6 separate regions of the Homo sapiens genome follow, and all the other regions are linked to region 6. Evidence: promoter capture Hi-C in human tissues and cell types (Jung and others, 2019). All regions are on one chromosome and are shown on one strand. The core of a region is centred on a gene start or on the middle of the fragment in contact, and the rest is flanking DNA. Distances in the headings are between cores, read along the strand shown.

Region 1 (3,308 bases), core at 356-2,855, 400 kb before region 6:
ACACTGGCAAGGAACCGTCCCACTGGCAAGGAGCTGTCCACGCTGGCAAGGCCCTCAGAGGCCACTAGGAGCTGTTTGCTGGGCACCACTGAAACTGCGGGCTGGAAGCTCCTCTGGGTGTCCTGAGGGCCAGGCCAGTGAGTGCCGCAGGGGCAGGTAGGAGGCAAAGCAATAGTGCGGGATTGGGAGGTGGCTGCCCGAAGCGTCCTCCCCTCTGAGGAAGGGTCAGTGCAGGAGCAGCGCTGGAGGATACGGCTCTGCGGCTGCAGCTGGACTGGAGGCAGAGGGTGTTTGGAGCACAGAGCCACAGGGGTCCCCAGTGCTGGCTGCTTTGCAGGGCGGCTGGACTGTTTGGTGACTAATGGAAGCACTGGGGAAGCCATTGAAGGGTTTTAATCAGTGGCATGACCTGATCTGTATTTCAGAAAGGTCACTGCGGATCCAGTCTGAAGAGTGGAGTGGGCTGGAGACCCTGGGTGCTGATGCCAGGCGACGGTGGGGCTGGGGAGGGCTGCACAGGTGCGTTTTGTAAAATTATAATGGACACGAGATAGACGCTCGGCATCCTGATCCAGGAGAAGTCTCAACAAGGGACAGCTGGTGTGGCTGAGTGTGTCCGGAAAGAAGGGAGATGGGTTAAATAGTAAAAAATATTAAGACTAATGTTGGTAAATGCTCCTAATCATTTTCTAGATATTAATTATTCCAAATGTTAATTATCTTCGTGACCTTGGTGTGCAAGGACTGGCTGGTGTCCTGAAAAGCACTCTTGGAAGTGCCAGGGTTCCGCTGTGCTGTGCCCCACTGAGATTTCCTTAACAGTCCATCCTTGTCATTCCTGGAGTCTGTATGCGATTCTTCTACTTGCTAAAATGTAGCTGTAAGGCCAGGTGCGGTGGCTCACACCTGTAAATCCAGCACTTTGGGAGGCCGAGGTGGGCTGATCACGAGGTCAGGAGTTCAAGACCAGCCTGACCAATATGGTGAAACCCCGTGACTTTAAAAATACAAAATTAGCTGGGCGTGGTGGTTACTTGGGAGGCTGAAGCAGGAGAATCGCTCGAACATGGGAGGTGGAGGTTGCAGTGAGCCAAGACCACACGGCTGTACTCCAGCCTGGGCGACAGAGCTAGACTCCGTCTCAAAAAAAAAAAGAAGCTGTAATCCCCAAACACTTACTTGCACGGAGCGGCGACAATTCTGAGTCACCGGAGTGCGTTCTTGGCTGAGGTTGCGCAGGGCGGCCTTCTTGCTCCAGCTTGTGCTGCAATCAAGAGCCCTTTTCGTGGTCTATCTGGTGCCATTTTTTTTTTTTTTGCATTTTTGTGCTTTTTGTGGGTGACTTTGCTGTTTGCAATGTCCCCAAGCATTGTCCCGAGGTGCTGCCTCACGTCCTAGGCAAGGAATGCCTGGGTCAGAGAAGCTTTGTCCAGGCTTACGGTGCTTGGCACCGATTGCAATGTTAATGAAGCCACCACGTGCATTCAGTAAGGGATCTTTAAATAGAAACACAGAGAATGAGATGATATATTGATCGGCTGATGAAAACGGAGCCAGAGGCTTGCGGGACCCTAACCCTGTGTGTCTGCTAGCAGCAGGGGCTCAGCGTTCTCTAACTCAGCCTTCGCAGGGGCTCTGCAGACTGGAGCTAAGGTGGGTTGTGAGAAGTGGTGGCAGGTGCAGCCCAGGAGAGCCTTGCAAACAGCTGCCTTAGATGACCGGGTCTCGAGAGCTGTGTCAGACAGCGTGGGGTTGGTTTTCTGGGCCTCCATCGCCTGCTCTTTGGCTGGGGCATGAAGAAGCTAAACGGTGGTTTCTTCCTTGGCCAGGAAAGGAGGACACACTGTTAGGTTTTTCAGTTTCCTAACAGTTGTCCAAAGAGAATCAGAACTGCCAGTGGGAAGAGGAATATTTAAGGGGAATAATCCCGGCTCTGATTATCCACGCATAGGGAGGATAATCCAGTCCAGCCGGCTCAGGGGCTCAGGTGGGTTCCATCACGGTCTTTGTTCACCCATGAGAACGCGGCTGAGGGAGCAGGGGGCCTCATTCCGGGCACATGCGGCCCACACAGCTGTCCTTTTACATTGGTGGCACTCAGGCTGCGGGAGAACAGCGATGGGTTGAGGGGCCGTTGTCAGCACTGCTCCCTCAGGACTCAGGCTACTGCCCGGCCCCGACCTGGCCTCTGACCTCTACAGCATCAGATGCCAGGGATGAGAGTGTTCAGTAGCCCCTCCTGGGTGAGGAAGGATGCACACTGGCCCAGGGCTGGGGACGGGTGTCCGATTTCCATCGATTCCCGTATGAGTGGCCTTTACAGCCTCCCGGGCCTGTGTCTGGATCCTGGAAGAGGTCGCCCTCTGCTGTCCCTACTCAGGATAACAAGCCTCCTGCTCTTCATGATGAGCGTGCAGGGACACTGTTTCTGCCGCACTCAGGGCCCCAAGACCAAATTCTAAAATCTCCCCAAACCTTCAGCAGGGTGGGGCCAACCCTCATGAGACCAATGCATCTGTTTCTGCCTGGAGATCGCTGGGGCTGGTTCACACTTGGCACGTTCGGACTCGCAGATCAAGCTCTGAGGCAGGGAGGAGGCAGCAATGCCCCCTCCACATGCAGGCAGCGCCTGGCAGGTCCGGGGTCACCCCAGAGTGGAGGCCAGGCTCCTGGGCATTCCCCACCCTGGGATCCCTGCACTGTTCTCATCTGTCCTCCGAGAGGGGCAGACGGCAGCGACGGCTGGAGGCCGCACTCATGGGCACTGCAGACTTAGAGAAGCCAAAGTGCGTTTTATGCTGAGCCAAGAGTGAGTGGCAACCCGGAACACAGGTTCCATCGGCTGAGGAGGCAGGAGGGGTGGTTCCACAGCCTGAGAGGGGCAGTGCGCTCAGGGGGACCTCGCAGTCCTGCCTGGCCTCGGTGCCTTGTACACAGGTGGAGTGGACACGTGGCTGGCACACAGGGTGGAAAGCTGGCACCTACTGGAGCCTCAGGGTCTGCAGGGGCGACTGTTCTGTCCTGCCTCATCTGACAGGCACGGCAGTGACCAGGACACGTCAGTGAGACAATGCAGATTCCAGCCTCATAGGCCAGGCCTGCCTCCTACTACCCGTGTGGCCAAACTGCAGCCATCTTGGTCCACTTTTGAAAATGTTTCTTTCGGATCTTTCTGGCTGGTGCCTCTGCTGCGGAATAGCAGCTCCAGTGGGTTACCTGTCAGGAGCGCCCCTGGAGGTGCAGCTTCCCTCGTGCTCTGAATTACTCAGGTGAAGTCAGCAGGAATCCGATTCCCATCTCTGGGAAAA
Region 2 (3,209 bases), core at 507-3,006, 370 kb before region 6:
TGTGGCGCCGCACTTTGAAAGCAATGCGTCTTCCACTGAGTCGCACTTGCATCTTTGTAGGAATCCCCAGGGCGTATTTGTGTGGGTCTATTTCTGGGCAGTTCGTTGTGCCACATCAATCTGAGTATCTGTCCCTCTGCCAACCCCACACTCTCTAGGTCATTATAACTACTATATATAAGAAGTCTTGCAATCAGGTACATGGATTAGCCCCATTTTTCTCTTTTTCCAAATTAAGCCTCTTCTTTTTTTTTTTTTTTTTTTTTGCGACAGAGTCTCGCTCTATCACCCAGGCTGGAGTGCAGTGGTGCGGTCTCGGCTCACTGCAAGCCCCGCCTCCCAGGTTCACGCCATTCTCCTGCCTCAGCCTCCCGAGTAGCTGGGACTACAGGCACCCACCACCATGCCCAGCTAATTTTTTGTATTTTTAGTAGAGACAGGGTTTCACTGTGTTAGCCAGGATGGTCTCGATCTCCTGACCTCGTGATCCACCCACCTTGGACTCCTGAAGTGCTGGAATTACAGGCATTAAATTTCTTTCCTTTAAAAATTACCCAATTTTAGCTATTCTAGCTCCATCACTTTCCATCTATCCTTTGGAATAATCTTGTACTTATTCATGACATATCTTTTTGGAATTTTGTTAGACGCAATAAGAATTGTGTTAAACCCATAAATCAGTCTGGGGAGAGAATTCACCACTTCACGATGTTGAGTCTTCCACTCTATGAGCAAGGCACGCCTTTTCACTTACTTTCTTCGTCTTCTTTCTTTCATCAGAATTCTGTGTACAAAACACATATACAAAGTCCAGCACATTATTTGTTAGACTTACACCTAAGTACTTCATTTTTTGAGTGGTTAAAAATAGAAGTATATTTTTCATTGTGATGCCCATGTGTTTACTGCTACTACATAGAAATACAATTGATTTTTCAAACGTTTATCTTCTTTCTTGTGACCTTTCTGAACTCACTGATTAGTTCTAGGACGCTCTTATTTATTTCAGATTCCTTACGATTTTTTAAGTGGGCTACAAAGTCATCTGCTTATGGGACAAGGGCGTGTCTTCCTTTTTGATGTGTATGCCTTTGGTTTCCTTGTCTCTCTGTGTGCACCGGCCAGAGCTTCCAGCACTGTGTTGTGTTGAACGCGAGGGTTTCCTTGTCTTGCTGTGCACCAGCCAGAGCTTCCAGCACTGTGTTGAACGCGAGGGTTTCCTTGTCTTGCTGTGTGCACCGGCCAGAGCTTCCAGCACTGTGTTGTGTTGAACGCGAGGGTTTCTTCGTCTTGCTCTGTGCACCGGCCAGAGCTTCCAGCACTGTGTTGTGTTGAACGCGAGGGTTTCCTTGTCTCTCTGTGTGCACCGGCCAGAGCTTCCAGCACTGTGTTGTGTTGAACGCGAGGGTTTCTTTGTCTCTCTTTGTGCACCGGCCAGAGCTTCCAGCACTGTGTTGTGTTGAACGCGAGGGTTTCTTTGTCTCTCTGTGTGCACCGGCCAGAGCTTCCAGCACTGTGTTGTGTTGAACGCGAGGGTTTCCTTGTCTTGCTGTGTGCACCGGCCAGAGCTTCCAGCACTGTGTTGTGTTGAACGCTAGTGGTGAGAGCTGATGCTCTTCATTTGTTTCTGATCTTAGGGGAAAGCATCTAGTCTTTCATTAGCAAGCGTGTGAGCTGAGGGTGTTTTGTAGATGATCTTTATCAAGTTGATGAAGTTCCCCTTGATTCCTCTTCTTCTGAGAGTTGTTTTTTTTTTTTTTTTTTTTTTAAATCATGAGTGATGTTGAATTTTGCCAGGTGCTTTTTCTGCATTTTGACGTGGTCATGTGATTTTTCTTCTTTAGCCTATTTATTTTATTTTATTTTATTTTATTACTATTATACGTTAAGTTTTAGGGTGCATGTGCACCATGTGCAGGTTTGTTACATATGTATACCTGTGCCTTAGCCTACTAATAGGATGAACTACATTGATTACTTTTGGATATTGAACCAGACTTGCATCCCTGGAATAAAGCTCCACTTGGTCATGGTCTTTAATTATTTGTATATATTGCTGAACTCTATTTTCAAGTATTTTGTGAAGGATTTTTATGTGTTCATAAAGAACATTGTGTGCAGTTTTCTCTTTATATAATGTCTGTGTTAGGCTGTTCTCACATCGTTATAAATACCTGGCTGGGTGCGGTGGCTTGCACCTGTAATCTGTAATCCCAGCACTTTGGGAGGCCAAGCTGGGTGAATCACCTGAGGTCACGAGTTCGAGACCAGCCTGGCCAACATGGTGAAACCCTGTCTCTACTAAAAATACAAAAAATTAGCCGTGTGTGGTGGCAGACACCTGTAATTCCAGCTACTTGGGAGGCTGAGACAGGAGAATCGCTTAAACCCAGGAGGCAGAGGTTGCAGTGAGCCAAGATCGCACCACCACACTCCAGCCTGGGCAACAAGAGTGAAACTTCATCTCAAAAAAAAAAAAAAAAAAAAGAAGAAGAAGAAGAAGAAATACCTGGCTGGGTGCGGTGGCTCACACCTGTAATCTGTAATCCCAGCACTTTGGGGGGCCGAGGTGGGTGGATCATTTGAGGTCAGGAGTTTGAGACCAGCCTGGCCAACATGGTGAAAACCCATCTCTACTAAAAATACAAAAATTAGTTGGGCATGGTGGTGGGTGCCTGTAATGCCAGCTACTGGGGAGGCTGAGGCAGGAGAATCGCCTGAATCCAGGAGGCAGAGGTTGCAGTGAGCCGAGATCATGCCACTGCACTCCAGCCTGGGCGACAGAGCAAGCCTCTGTCTCAAAAAACAAAACAAAACAAAACAAAACCTAATATTGGGAAATTTATAAAGAAAAGAGGCTTAGAGGCCTCAGGAAGCTTGCAACCATGGCGGAAGGCAATGGGGGAGCAGGTGCGTCACAGGCCGTAGCAGGAGAAAGCTGGGGGCGAGGGGTGGGGGGAGGAGGGAGAGGGGGAAGGTGCTACACACTTTTAAATGCCCAGATCTCGTGAGAACTCTGTCATGAGAACAGCACTGGGGTGCTCATGATCCAGCCATCGGCGTCCACACTGCCACTGAGTCCTGGCTGCCTTCCTCGCTTTCCTCACCCTCCTCGTTGCTCACTGTTTGCTGGGGCACATTCCCAGTGCTGGTGCCTTTGCCGGGCTTCCCCGATGGGCGTGGAATCTGGGGCCGGTAGACAGGCAGAG
Region 3 (3,222 bases), core at 571-3,070, 430 kb before region 6:
AGGGTGCAGGAGAAAGCATCCCTCGGGGCAGCCCTCAATCAATGACTCTTGGGTGTCGCTGTGAAATACCTGTTCCCTCATCCCTTGGGTGAGTTCACCTGAGGCTCACAGTTTACACCACTTCCCAGAGTACCTCTCTGGGGTCAGGCTCCATTTCCCCACTGCGGGGGGTTGCTGAGTACCACATGCTTGCCAGCCTCCTTCCCCACCCTGGACCACTTCCCCACTCCCCAGGGCTGCTATCCCCACCTCCAACCAAAGGGCTTGCTCTGGAATCCCTGCCTCAGGCTCTGCTTCCGGGACCTCAGACCCCGTGGGGGTCCAGGTCTGCCCAGGACCACTGTGAGTTTCACATCTGCCTCCTGCTCAGTGGGCAGACTTTGGGAGTCCATTATTCTATTTACTTCTTTCTTTATGGACTCAGATTTCTTTTACTTTCTTGCGAGCTCTGTATGTTTTGAAAAGAATTGTGTTTGAACCTTGATCTAGCTCTTGCCCTCTGCACCTTATGAATCTCAACTCCTCATTCAGTTCTCGGCTAAAGTATCAGGTCCTGGGAGAAGCTCTCCCTGACCCTGAGGCAAAGCACGCTCCTGTGGTGGTCTCTTGTCCATCTCGTCCTTGCCTCCACCCCTCTGGAGCCACAATGGAGCGGAGGTGTGCAGTCCCTGTAGCCCAAGCTGCTTGGGTTCCCACTTCAGCTGGGTCACCTGTCACCTGCGTCACTGTGTGACCCCGAGCAGGGAGCGCCGCCTTTCCGTGTGAGTCTCCTCATCTGTGAGATGGAAATGATACTATCTGCACAGCAGGGCTGTGGTGAGACTATAAGGAGATAATAAATATGAAGTGTCTAGAACAGGTGGAATCCATAGTACATGCTCAATAAATGTTAGCTCTGTCACATCCTGCAAAGATATGCTGCAGTAGGCATCACCATTTGTCCAAGGGGAGAGTCAGGAGGGCAGAAACCAGGTCTCTCTCCTCATGCCCTTTCCCAGGGCTCAGGGCAGGGCTAGGGCAGCAGGGAGCATGCAGTAAACATTTTCAGGTCAAATGAAAGGGAGCAGGACCAAAGGCACGATGGCAGATCGGGGCTTCCCCAGTGCCCCGGGGAGGCGGATTTCAGGCACAGGGACACGTGCAAAGGCACAGCTTTTAGGGAGCTGGAGGGCAGGGCGGGAAGGCCAAGGAAGCCGAGAAACGGGTCCAAGGCTCGGATGCTCTGGCCAGGATTTGTACCTTTACCTCCGAGTGTGGGAGTATTTGGCGACAGAAGCCCCTGGGGCTGCGGCTTCTGGTGGGGGTCTTCATGGATGCTCAGGGGAGGAGAACGGCCTGGAGCCACTGGAAACGGGGAAACGGGGAAACGGGTATGAGGTTGGGGAGGGGCGGGGAGGAGGGGGAGGGCGGGGCCCCAGGGCGGGAGTCTGACCCCAGGGGTCTGCGAACCCGGACCTGCGCGTGGCGCCGCGCCGGGTACCTCCCCCTCTCTGCGTCTTTGTGCATTTTGCTTCCTTTCGCAGTAAACGTTCTTCCGAGAAATTCCAAGGGGATCTCAGCCAAGCAGAGGGGGAAGGGATCCTGCCCACGCCTGGGTAGGGGGCCGCGGAGGCTGGGGAGGAGCAGGGGGCGCCGCGAGGGAGGGAGCGGGAACCCGAGGGAGCGCGCGCGCCAGCAAGGGGGCGCGGAGGGCCCGGGCCAGCTACCTGCGTGGGGGCCGCGAGCCCCGGGCGCCCCCCGCCCCGCGCGTCTCCCAGCCGCCCCCGCCCCCCGCGCGGCCCCCGCCCCGGCTCCGCCCCGCCCCTCGCGCGGGGTCCGCGTCTGCGGCTGCGTTCCCCGAAAGACGAGGCTGCGCCCGGATTCCGGTCCGCAGGGAGACCGAAGGGCACAGCTCCCCGCGCCGCGCACGCCGCCCGAGCCCGGAGTGCGGACACCCCCGGGATGTGAGTGAGCCCCCCGACCCCGAGGCCCGCGCTCCACGCCCCATCCGCGGTGAGCGCCGAGGCGCGCGCGGAAGGCCAAGGGAGGGGACTCGGCCCGGGGTTCCCGGCCCCCCAGCCCAGGGGTGGGGGTGGGGACCTGGCACGCGCCCCTCCCCCCAGTGGCAGGTCCCACCCGCTCCCGCCCCTGCCGCTCATTCCTGTCCGGACGCACCTGCAGCTCCCCGGGGAGAAGAGGACGCCCCCCATCCGCTCCCCCACACAGGTGCCGGCGCGGGGCGGAGGCGTCTCGAGCTGTCACCTCGCCCCAGAGGCCAGACGTCTCCCGGCGGGGATGCTGTGACGGCGGACGCTCTGGAGAAGGGGCTGGGGGTGGGGCTCTGCGAGCTCCGGGCGGACCCCGGCCTTGGATTCCGGGGAGAAGGTTGCATCCTGAGGCTGGGAAAGGAGAGGGTCTTTGGGGTCTCCTGACCGATGCTTCTCCCCTCCAGGCTTGCGCCCCAGAGGACCCGCGCCCCAAGCCCCCGCGCCGCCCCCAGGCCCACCCGGAGCATGCTGCCTGCAGCCATGAAGGGCCTCGGCCTGGCGCTGCTGGCCGTCCTGCTGTGCTCGGCGCCCGGTGAGTAGGGGGCCCGCGGGCTGGGTCAGGTGCCTGGGAGAGCCCGAGGCGCCGCGGGAGAGCCGGGTGTGGGGCTGCCACCCTCTGACGGTTCCCACCGCACTTCGCATAGAGCCCACGCCCCCTCCGGGACCCCTGCGACCCCAGCCCGGCCCTCGGCCCCTCTGCCCCGGCACTGGGCTCTCTCCAGCGCTCTTCCTCCAGGGCCTGGAACTGGTGGGCGGCTGGCCCCGCACGGAAGCCCTTGGTCATCCGTCACCTCTGAGAGCCTCCCGGGCCTCCTTTCAAATCCAGTTTGGTCCTTCACAGCTTGGAACCCACGGACCTCTGGGGGGGATATGTGAGGCGGGGCGGGAGTGTGAGGGGGGCACTGTCGGTGTGGGGTCTGTATAGCCCGTGTGTGTGTTTGTGTGTGTGTGTGCACGCACGTGCATGGGGGCCAGGGAGGGGCCATAGGGGCTCCCCTCAAACTGCCAGGATGGGGCACAGTTGTCCCAGGGCCTCTGCTCCCCCTCCAGGGGTCATGGGGGCCTGCTCCCTCCCGTGGGGTCGGGCTCTCCCAGGAGTGCCTGCAGCAGGGGGATGGGTGGGGGGCGCAGGGGGCTGCCTGGTTTGGACCCCAGTGCCTCTGGTCACCCTCCTCCCCATGCCCTGCCCAGCTCA
Region 4 (3,376 bases), core at 258-2,757, 490 kb before region 6:
CTGGAGGTGGGTCTGACTCAGTCCTGCCTCCAGGAGCACCAGGCCTGGCAGAGGAGGGCCTCACAGGGGACACCTCGTGGGTGTGTGGGGCAGGGCTCGTGCTGAGGGCAGGCTTGGGGCTCCTGGGAGGGGGGTGGGCTGTGTGTGGTGGGGCATGCTGGGGGCCCTGGCTAGGGAGGGGCTGTGTGTGGTGGGGCACGCTGTGGTCCCTGGCTAGGGAGGGGCCGGCCCTCGGGTTGGATGCGGCGATTTGCTCTGCTTTTCTCGGGATGGGAGAGAGCAGAGGGTGGCCCACGTGTAGGGGTGTGTCAGGTGGGCAGTGAGGGTGGGCTCTTCTTAGCCCTACTCTGCTCTGCTCTAAGCGGTTCCCTGGCTCCCCAGCCCGCAGCAGCCAATCCAGCCCTCCCCTGTACAGGACCGGCCCACCCTGCTGCTCTCTCTGCCCCACAAAACTGAACCCTACCCTGGGGCCTCTGTGCTTGTGTCTCCACCCTAGGCCCCCACTGAGCCCTTCTCTGCCTGGTGAACTCCTATTTAACCTCTACATCCTGGCACCACTGACCCTCCCAGCTGGTGGCTTCTTCCCCTGTTCCCTACTCTGGAAGGCAACTGAGTGTCATGGTGAGCAGCAGTGAGGGGTGTACTGAGTGTCCCCCACTCTGCTGGAGGCAAGCTCACAGCAGGACTGTGGCCTGCTGGCTTCCATCACACAGCCCCGCCCAGAATGCTCCAGGCAGATCAGGCAGCAGGGCTCTGGGGTTGGGGCGGCCATACCTCTGCTCCTGCCACCAGGGAGCCTGTTGGTCTCCTCCTCTTCCACCTCATCCTCATCTTCCTCGTCGTAGTCATCTGGCCCGTGGTCCTCGTCCTCTTCCTCTTCCTCCTGCTGTGTCTGCCCTCTCCCTGGCCGTGCAGGGATGCTTGTAAGCCTCAGCTACCCGGGTATGGAGGACACCTGCTCTGGGCAAGCATCGTGCCCCCAACTCCTTGGCCCTCCCCAGCCATCCTCGGGCCCCAGGGTGGCTGGGGAGGGCCCCTACCCTGAACACCCTACTCACCCTACTCACTGTCCTGCAGCCTACTCACCCTACTCACTGTCCTACTACCCTACTCACCCTACTCACTGTCCTGCAGCCGAGTGTGCCCTGGCATTGTAGTTACAACAGCAGCTGCTGTGGGCTGGCCCTTTATGGTAGCCCCTCCCCGCACCCCACATAAACAGGGGCGCAGATATTTGGGGACTCTCGGGGACCCAGGCCAGCTTCCATCCATGCTGCTCTGGGCTGGGGACTCCAGCCTCATCCCCTCCTTCTTCCTAAGCCCCTGCTGGGGGTCCCTGGAGGTCCCTGTGCTCCAGGACTGCTGTTGCTGCCCCCTCACCGCAGGGTTACCCTTTGCCCCGCACCTGGCCGCCCGAACAGCAAGAGGGCAAGCAGGACAGCCCCGAGCGCCTTCATCTCGCCGGACGCTGCTGTGTCCCTGACTCTGAGTCCTCCCGCAGGGCTCTGGAGCTGCGGTAAGTGGGATGAAGGGCATTGCCGTGGGCTTCCTAGTGGCCCCCACCAGCTCCAGCCTCAAACAATGGGCCTCACACTGGTCCCCAGCTCCAGGCGCCAGGCCAGGGACTGTTGTTTCCCTCCAGGACATCTGGGGCCAGAGGGGAAGGAGAAGTCATTGTGGTTGGCCTTGGAACGTCCTGTGCACCCGTGCCACGGCAGGTGGAAGGTGGTGCTGGCCCTCGCCTGGCTTGCCGCTCAGTGCCTCAGCCCTGCAGTGCAGGGCAGGGAGCCTCGCCCCGGAATGGGCCATGCCTGACACCCCTCAACCCCATGTCTGGGCTCCATAGTCACAGGACCTTGGGGTCACAGACCCTCTATTTGCTGGTCACTGGCCAAGCATCGTCATCCTAGAGTCAGCATCACACCCAGGCCCCTTTAAGAGCATTTAAGTAAAAACACAGTCAATGCCCTCAAGCTAAGGCTGCGTGCTCACCTCCTCCTCACCCACACTCAGCAATGCACTGCTAGGCCCAAGGCCTCCCGGCTGCCCCTCACTATCACCTCGGGTCTTTGCCCCTGCTGCTCCATCTGCAGTGCTGTTCCTGCTGGTGTCCGGTGGAGAGCTTTCTGGAGCTCTTGGGGGCCCGCCCCCTCGGTCTCTTGCTGGGAAAGCCATCAGCACCCACCTGCCTTCTGGCCTTGTGTGAGAGACGGGCTGCTCTGGGAGAGGCTTGGAAAGCCCAGGTCGCTCCCTGAGGCCACCCCCTCCTCTCAAGACCCCACCCAAGCCCTTGGGGGGTGCTGATGCAGAGTGCAGAGTCGAGGCTCTGAGCTGCCCCTCTCCCAAGGGCAGCAGAGGGGTGGGGCAGCGGCAGGGGCTGGACGTCCGGAGCCAGGGTCAAGCCTGAGCGTCTCTGTGTGCCTTGGTGCTTGGGCCAGGCACTTCACCTACTGAGGCCTCAGTTTCCCCGACTGTCAATGGGTGGGGTGGGGCATTTTCTGGCCGGCCACCTGTAACAGAGGTTGAGTTGGTTCTGGAGTGAGCTACCTGGGTTTAAGACCCGGTTCCTCCTTCCCCCGGCTGTGGGTTCTGGACTAGCCCCTTGGGTTCCCCAGGCCTCAGCTCCCTCATAGGGTGAGGTGACCATCAAGGGTCAGTACCTGCTGGGCTTAGGACAGCGCCTGAGGCTGGGAATACCTGTCTCTAATGTCCCAGCCACCGAGTCAACCATCCTTCCTTAATTCACCTGAACCTGTCATTCTTTCCACTCTACCGGCACCCACCCAGCATCTAGCCCTTCCCCAGCCAAGGCTGCAAGGTCACTTGCCAAGCCAGGGTCTCCCATAGTGGTGCCCACGCCACAGCCGGACACGCCCCGCCAGCCCCAAACTCTTCATACCTGATGCCTGTCCCCCCCAGCCCCGTCCCGCCCCGCCCCGCCCCGCCCTTCCCTGCCCCTCCGCGCGTGGCCCCACCCCCACCCGCCTCCCTGCGCCCTCTCGCCCTCGGCCCGCCTCCCCCACGCCCCGCCTCCCCCACTGCCCCGCCTCCCCCACTGCCCCGCCTCCCCCACTGCCCCGCCTCCCCCCACGCCCCGCCTCCCCCACTGCCCCGCCTCCCCCACTGCCCCGCCTCCCCCCACGCCCCGCCTCCCCCACTGCCCCGCCTCTCTCACGCCCCGCCTCCCCCCACGCCCCGCTTCCCTGGTGCCCCGCCTCCCCCACACCTGTCTACCCCATGCCCCGCCTCCCCCACTGCCCCTACTTCCCGTCGCCCCGCCTCCCCATCGCCCCGCCCCCATTCGCCCCTTCTCCCCAGCGTCCCACCTCCCTGTCGACCCGCCTCTCCTGTGCCCCGCCTCCCCCGTGCACCGCCT
Region 5 (3,335 bases), core at 834-3,333, 320 kb after region 6:
TGAGGGAAGGGAGGGGAGCCCCGGCCCTAGGCCCAGGCAGCTATTGGCTATTTCCCTCATCCCTTCCTGAGGACCCCTTAGCATCCTCCTCCCCCTCCCCATCGGCTCAGCCTGAGGGAGTGGGCTCCTGGCTCTTCCACGGAGAGGTTTACCTTCCCTGACTTGCTGTGGGGCACTCAGGCGGGCTCATCCCAGATTTCGGAGGAGCCAACAGGTACGGAGCCCCTCCTCTGGTGGTTCCTACCCACGCTAGACCATTCCCCCTGCAGTGTCCAGGCACAGAAACAGCCCCATATACGCCTTGTATGGTCAAGAAAGCGGCTCCTGGAGGTGGTCTGCCCTGGGAGGAAAGGGCTTCACTTTCCCCTCCTTTGCACACCTGAACACGGAGCTGTCAGAGGAGGCTGAGTGAGGTGGCGGCCAGACAGACAGCGCCAGCCACGGAAGGGGAGGTGGGCACCGTGCCAGGCACCCGGCATCCTCAGTCCAGACTGACAGCTCTCAGACAGGCATTGGTCCTGGCGAACCTTCCCCTTCAAGTGGAAGCTGGGGGGTCAGCAGTCATGGGCATCCTCCCTGGTTAGGAGCCGGCTTCCCTGCACTCTAGCTGTCCTAGCCGAAGAGTGAAGCCCTGTCCAAATCATGGCGAGGCTGCAAGACAGGCACACACTACTGCCTCCTGGGAGCCCAGGGGAGACTGAAATACACCAAGGCAAGGAGCGTGGGTGGGCCCAGGACAGGCCGGCCTGAGCACCAGCCCAGGAATGCTGGTGGGCATGTGCCCCTCTTCCCTCCCACCCATGTGTGCACACATTTGTGCCATATACTACCGTTCCCATGTTTGCGCCTGGGCACACACTTGTGCCAGCATACACACACTTGTGCACTTGCACCTGGTGTCCAGGAACACTCCCTCAGCTCACAGACGTGCGCTGTGTGCACACAGTACCACGCAGTGTCCACGAGCACACTTTTGTGTTCGTGTTCACAGAACCCGTGTGCGCACACATGCACAGTCCTGGGCTGCAGAGAACCCCAGCCAGCGGGGCGGTGGGGGAAGGGGAGGGCACGCCTCCTTCCCAGGAGCTCAGCAAGGCTGTCCGCGGGAGCCCAGGGCTGCCCGCAGGGCTTTGGCGTAGGCCTCGCAAGCACAGCAAGCATCACAGAGTGAGGGCGGCGGGAGAACCTCCGCTTGCCGGAGAAGGTGCAGCGGACTCATCACTCTTGCTCTCCTGCCTTGGGTGTGACTCTTGGTTCACCTCTGGGGAAACAGGCTGAAAGGTGACCCTGGCGGCCCAAGGACACACACCCATTGTCCGCAGGTTCCTCCCAGGTGTCTTCTCCAGCAGGTCACCGGGAGAGCGAGGGGCTGGAGTCTTTCGGGAGCTCAGTGCCCGCAGGCAGAGCAGGGAAAGGGAGGCGCCCCAGGCCCCTGCGGAAGGAGGTCCCAGGAGGGTCTCCGCAAGGGGCTCCCTACTCTGCACTTCAGCTCCTCCAGGGAGGGGCTGCGACCTCGGGCAAAGGTCCCTCAGATGTCTTGAGACTCAGTTTCCTCGTTGGTGACACTGGGAGTCCGGAGTCCCCGCGGGGCCTGCCAGCCCCCGGCCGAGCACGGCCCCACGCGGAGCCCGTGCAGCCTGACTTGGGGCCCAACGCCCGTCCCCGCAGCGCGAGACGCGCAGGTGCCCGGCCCTGCCCTGGCCGAGACCCGCCGCCTGCGCAGCCCCGCAGAAGCTCCAGCTTTGGCCCGTGTGAGGTCCGGGCTCGGCCTGGGCTGGGCGGAGCCCGCTCCCGAAGCGCCTCAGCGCCGGGCCGCCGCCCTCCACGTGACCTCCACCTTCGCCGTCATCCCCATATGCAAAACGGGGAAACGGGGAAACGGAGGCCCACCACCAGGCAAGTGAGGACAGCCGACTCGCGCGCGCACCCGCAGAGGCCTCTTGGCCCAGCCGACCGCCGTCCGCGCCGCTTCCGGCTCCGCGCCGGGGCCTCTGGGGCGGGTAGTCCCCGCGCGCGTCCGGGACCGGCGGCCATTGGCTGGTGCGGGAGGGGGCGCGCACGCCGGCGGCGGGAGGGGCCGTCACGTGATGTTTGGGTGCCCGCCCCGCCCGCCTCGCCCGCCGTGAGCGCCCGGAGCGGTCCGCGAGCCACCGAGGCCCAGGTGAGGCGGCGGCGGTGGGGCTGGGGCCTGGCCGGGGCCGGGCGTGGGGCGGCGAGGGCGAGGCGGCCGGGGACCAGCGCGGGGCCCGGAGCCCGGCGGGGGCCGCGGCGTGGCGTGGTATGGGGCTTGCGGGAGGCCGGGCGGGGGGCGGGGCCGCGCCGGTGGGGAGGGGAGGGGGCGGGACCGTGCCGGGGGTGGACCCCAGGGGCGCCAGGGACCCTGAGCCGCAGCCCCGCGAGAGCGCCGCATTTCGGGGACCGGCCCGCGGGCACATGAGCCCCTCGGCGGGTCCTCGCGCGCTGTTCAGACCCCAGGTCGGTGGGCTCTGGGCCGGGCAGCCGGTGCCTGCGCCTGGAGGTCAGTGCCGTCCCGGGGAGCGCCCCAGCGCCTACTTGCTGGGTGCAAGGGTTGGTGCCCTGCAGCTCAACGAGCGGAGCCCGCCTTCGAGCCTGAGCTGGGGACCCCGTTCCTGTGTGCTTGCCTCTCCATGCCTTTCTGTCCCTTCTCCAAGTTGTAAGAAGGTGCTTCCTGGGTACTGGGGCCTGCGACATCCCCACCAGGGACTTTCAGGTGATGTTGATCTGTGCTGCCCCCGCAGAAACTCTCCAGGGACCTCGTGTTTGTTGCCTCATGGCGCACTCCTCCTGCTCTGGAAGCTCTGCCATGTCCAGTGTGGTAGCCCCTAGGCATGTGTGGCTGTTTACATTGTCCTTAACGTGAAGGATTCAGGTCCTCCGTGCCAGTGGTCACATGTCCGACACTCAGTAGCCACACGTGTCTGGTGGCGGCTGTGTGGGGCAGCGCGGGTAGGGAACACTGCTTATCACAGGAAGTTCTGTGAGCGGTGTGGTGCGGCTCAAAATGGGCCTCGCGCGTGCTGCTCCGCCGGTGCTTCTCCGCCCCTCATCCTGCCAGGTGCCTTTCCAGCCACACCTGGCGCCCTTTCTTTCCTCTGCTGCACACTTGCCTCTTCTTTTAGTTCCTGGCTCGCTCCTGGCTTGGGGGCAGCTCCGCTTCCGGTATGTCTGAGCTCACCTTTCTGACCGCTCTCCCTACAGTATTTCTTGTTTGTCATTGTCACTCATCTGCTTGTTTTCTGTTTTATCTTTAGTGCCTGTGAGACAGGGGTGGGGATTGTTGCTTAGGATACTCCCAGTGTGGACACAGTATTGAG
Region 6 (3,127 bases), core at 1-2,500:
CCCAGGGCCCCAGGTGCCATGCTGCAGGGGCGGTTCTGCCCTGCTGGGAGGAGCGAGCCCTGGGAGGTGCATGGCCCTCCTCTCTCCAACTGCAGAAAGGCCAGAAGGCTTTCAGCTACTCGGCTCAATACCTCAACCCCAAACCCAGGTGACCAGAACCCAGCCCTTCAGCTCTAAGCTGTGTGAAAGGGGGGCTCAGGTCCTCGGGAACTCCTAGGAACCTCTTCTAACTGATCACCTCTCCAACCTATATTCAGGACCAAGGACCAGAGAGGTCAACACTCCAGCCACAGAACAGAGTACCAGGAGAGAGGAGAGGGGTGAACACGAAACCGTGAGGGGCCAGGTTAAGAAATGGCAGGAGGGAAGCACGCTAAGCCCGACTATGAAGAGTTGATTCGGGGACCCTAGGAACCCCCACGAACAAAGGCATCAGTGAGGAATGCCCCCGGTAGAGAGGGAGGGGCGGGAGCGGTAAGAGGCAGGACTCCAGCAGTATCCGAAAGAGGTGCAGGCAGCGGGCCTTCCCTAGGGGAGGGGGCCAGGGACTAGGAGGAGCCCCCGGAGGTCCCACAAAGGCCGTGCTCCGGGGCCAGGGGCGGGGGCCGCTCACCCTGCGCTGGCACAGGTGCTGCACGACGCGCTCGGGTGAGGTGCCCAGCAGGTGCTGCCGGAAGCGCAGCAGCGCGCACACGAAGCCGTCCCGCAGGCTGACAAAGCGCGCCTCCAGGTAGAACGCGCGGTCGTCCCAGCCCAGCAGGCGGGTGCGCACCTCGAAGGGCTCCAGCAGGCGCAGCGAGCGGCGGTGGCGCGCGCACGAGGCCGCCAGCACCGTGTGCGCCCGCAACTCCCTCAGCGCCCCGAGCACCCCGCAGCGGGTCAGGTGCGCGACGCGCGCAAAGTCGGCCTCGCGCAGGTAGCGCGCGTTGTTCATGTGCAGCAGCAGGTCCAAGTCCGAGGGCAGCACGCGGCCCGGGAAGCGCTGCTCAGCTAGCAGGTCACGGACGCGCGGCTGCAGCAGGCGCGCGCGCAGCACGGCGCACGGAAGGCGCACCAGGTACCAGACGTCCAGCAGCGCAAAGACAGCGAGCCCCAGGGCCAGCAACGCCACCAGCAGCCCCAGCATAGCGGCGGCGGCGGGCGCGGGGTCCTGCGGAGTCCGTGGCGCCGGTGCCGGTGTCCGCGGCGCTGGTTACGGTGCCCGCCAGGCCTCCTGGGAACTCACGAGCGCAGCGCGCCCGGAGCGAACCACAGCGCGAGGGCGGCCGAGGGGGAGGGGCCCGGAGCCCCGCCCACCGTGGCGCGACCTTCTCAGCGCCCTACGTGGTCCGTCCCGCCGTCCAGGCCCGCGCCACTTTCGCGTTCCCTGGGGCGGGGCGGGCGGCGCGCTGAGCGCCACAGCGGCACCTGGCGGCCGTGCGCGGCGCTGCAGGCGCGAGGGTGCACGCGCGCCCCGGCGTCTCCGCCTTCCCAGCAGCGCGAGACCCTCGCCAGGCTCTGAAGACGCGGCCTGGCCCTGGCCGTTCGGCCCTTCGTCTGAGCGCAAAGGCTCCAGCACCTCCGCGGCCGAAGCCGCGGGACTTTTCGTGGAAAATGGGACCCAGCCCGATCGCCAGCGGCGCTGCAGCGGACTCTGCGGGAACCTAGCTTCTGCTCCAGGACCTCCAGGGCCACCCCAGCTCGCAGGGCGTTCGCAGCGGCTCAGGGCGAATCACGCTCATGGTCCCCGTGCGCATTTTCAGCCCCAGCCGGTACCTCCTTACTCGCCCTCACGACATTCATTCCACCCCCTAAAGGTCCTGCCAACCCCAGGCTCTTCCCGAGCATTCCCGCCCTTCCTCCCTTTTGAAACCGGAGCAAATCACGGCCGGGCGGAAGCGGGGGAGCCCGGGTGAGAGTCAGTGACTCAGCTGCGGACTCCAAGTGTCGCCGGAGGCCCTGGGGCGCAGGCCCAGCGGGCTGTCGCACAGCTCGGCTGTCCTGTGCCCCTTCCTGACGAGGCTGGGGAGGAAAGGCGGCCCAGAGAAGGCCGGACCAGCTCTCCCCGTCAGCCCCAGGCTCTCGAATGACAGCGGATGCCAGCGACCGGGGATGGGGTCCCGGAATTGCTGGGTTAAACAAGCTCCGGATTCAGGCCTGGGCCTGGGCTGGGGTTCCAGGGTTCTGGACCGCCCTCAAAGAAGGAGCTCCCTGGGGCGGCACCTGGCTCTGCTTGATAGCCCCAGGGACAGGGAGCTCACTACCTATCAGGGCAGCTCCCCCAGTGCCGAGACCAGCTCGGTCCTGGAGACCCTAACCCAGCGGTGCTAGAGGAATTAAAGATACACACAGAAATATAGAGGTGTGGAGTGGGAAATCAGGCGTCTCACAGCCTTCAGAGCTGAGAGCCTCCAACAGAGATTTACCCACGTGTTTATTCACAGCAAGCCAGTGATAAGCACAGTTTCTACAGATTATAGATTAAAAGTACCCCTTAGGGAAACAAAGGGATGGGCCAAAATAAAGGGGTGGGTTTGGCTAGTTATCTGCAGCAGGGGCATGTCCTTAAGTCACAGATGGCTCATGCTATTGTTTGTGGTTTAAGAACGCCTTTAAGCGGTTTTCTGCCCTGGGTGGGCCAGGTGTTCCTTGCCCTTATTCCGGTAAACCCACAACCTCCCAGCGTGGGCATCATGGCCATCATGAACATGTTACAGTGCTGCAGAGATTTTGTTTATGGCCAGATTTTGGGGGCCTATTCCCAACACCCTAGCATTGCTCACACTTGTCCCTGAAGTGTCACCTTGTCGTAGCTGGGCTCTGAGCCCTCTGCCCCAGGGAGGGGTGGCCTTTTGGGCTGAAGGGACTGAGGACATAGCCGTTGAGCCTGTTGGCCATTGCTCAAAGAATGCAGCCTCCTGGTCACCCATGTTGTCCCCTTGCCAACAAAAAGAGTGAAACACTGTGCAATGTTTGAAGAGATTTATTCTGAGCCAAATCTAAGTGACTGTGGCCTGTCACACGGCCTCAGAAGATCCTGAGAACTTGTACCCAGAGTGGTCAGCCTGCAACTGGGTTTTACAAATTTTAGGGAGACATAAGACATCAATGAATACTTGCAGGATGGACATTGGTTTGGTCCAGAAAG

Evidence for each region. The method cuts DNA at HindIII sites, captures the fragments that hold promoters and counts their contacts. A contact is called where the count stands out against the background at its distance.
Region 1: a fragment that was not itself captured here is called in contact with the fragment with the promoter of THEM6 in region 6 in 4 of the 25 tissues and cell types used here (bladder, dorsolateral prefrontal cortex, mesendoderm cells and 1 more).
Region 2: a contact is called between a fragment that was not itself captured here and the fragment with the promoter of THEM6 in region 6, in 2 of the 25 tissues and cell types used here (H1 embryonic stem cells and lymphoblastoid cells).
Region 3: the fragment with the promoter of LY6H here is called in contact with the fragment with the promoter of THEM6 in region 6 in 2 of the 25 tissues and cell types used here (lymphoblastoid cells and mesendoderm cells).
Region 4: a contact is called between the fragment with the promoter of GPIHBP1 here and the fragment with the promoter of THEM6 in region 6, in 4 of the 25 tissues and cell types used here (dorsolateral prefrontal cortex, heart right ventricle, mesendoderm cells and 1 more).
Region 5: the fragment with the promoter of TSNARE1 here is called in contact with the fragment with the promoter of THEM6 in region 6 in 1 of the 25 tissues and cell types used here (adrenal gland).

The regions. Positions count from the first base shown.
Region 1 is chr8:143,130,259-143,133,566 of GRCh38, reverse strand. No RefSeq gene overlaps it. Among named protein-coding and RNA genes, the nearest start is that of LY6H, 28 kb to the left of the region's middle. The HindIII fragment of the contact is 7,324 bases long and covers 1-3,308 here.
Region 2 is chr8:143,095,352-143,098,560 of GRCh38, reverse strand. No RefSeq gene overlaps it. Among named protein-coding and RNA genes, the nearest start is that of LY6L, 16 kb to the right of the region's middle. The HindIII fragment of the contact is 6,767 bases long and covers 1-3,209 here.
Region 3 is chr8:143,158,919-143,162,140 of GRCh38, reverse strand. LY6H (lymphocyte antigen 6 family member H) reads left to right here and starts at 1,820. Exons shown (of 4, transcript NM_001135655.2): 1 at 1,820-1,943; 2 at 2,432-2,559; 3 at 3,219-3,222. The coding sequence starts at 1,942. It overlaps LOC124902035 (a long non-coding RNA gene), which reads right to left and starts at 2,272. Exons shown (of 2, transcript XR_007061136.1): 1 at 2,155-2,272; 2 at 1-1,344. The HindIII fragment of the contact is 31,387 bases long and covers 1-3,222 here.
Region 4 is chr8:143,211,349-143,214,724 of GRCh38, reverse strand. GPIHBP1 (glycosylphosphatidylinositol anchored high density lipoprotein binding protein 1) reads right to left here and starts at 1,507. Exons shown (of 4, transcript NM_178172.6): 1 at 1,406-1,507; 2 at 775-903. The coding sequence starts at 1,457. The HindIII fragment of the contact is 48,923 bases long and covers 1-3,376 here.
Region 5 is chr8:142,401,930-142,405,264 of GRCh38, reverse strand. It overlaps TSNARE1 (t-SNARE domain containing 1), which reads left to right and starts at 2,083. Exons shown (of 14, transcript NM_145003.5): 1 at 2,083-2,161. RefSeq lists silencers at 1,185-1,234, 1,675-2,244, 2,385-2,524 and an enhancer at 1,178-1,953. The HindIII fragment of the contact is 11,624 bases long and covers 1-3,335 here.
Region 6 is chr8:142,725,346-142,728,472 of GRCh38, reverse strand. THEM6 (thioesterase superfamily member 6) reads right to left here and starts at 1,250. Exons shown (of 2, transcript NM_016647.3): 1 at 614-1,250. The coding sequence starts at 1,126. LNCOC1 (lncRNA associated with ovarian cancer 1) reads left to right here and starts at 1,500. Exons shown (of 3, transcript NR_038925.1): 1 at 1,500-1,751. RefSeq lists silencers at 505-754, 1,055-1,494 and an enhancer at 1,525-1,744. The HindIII fragment of the contact is 14,450 bases long and covers 1-3,127 here.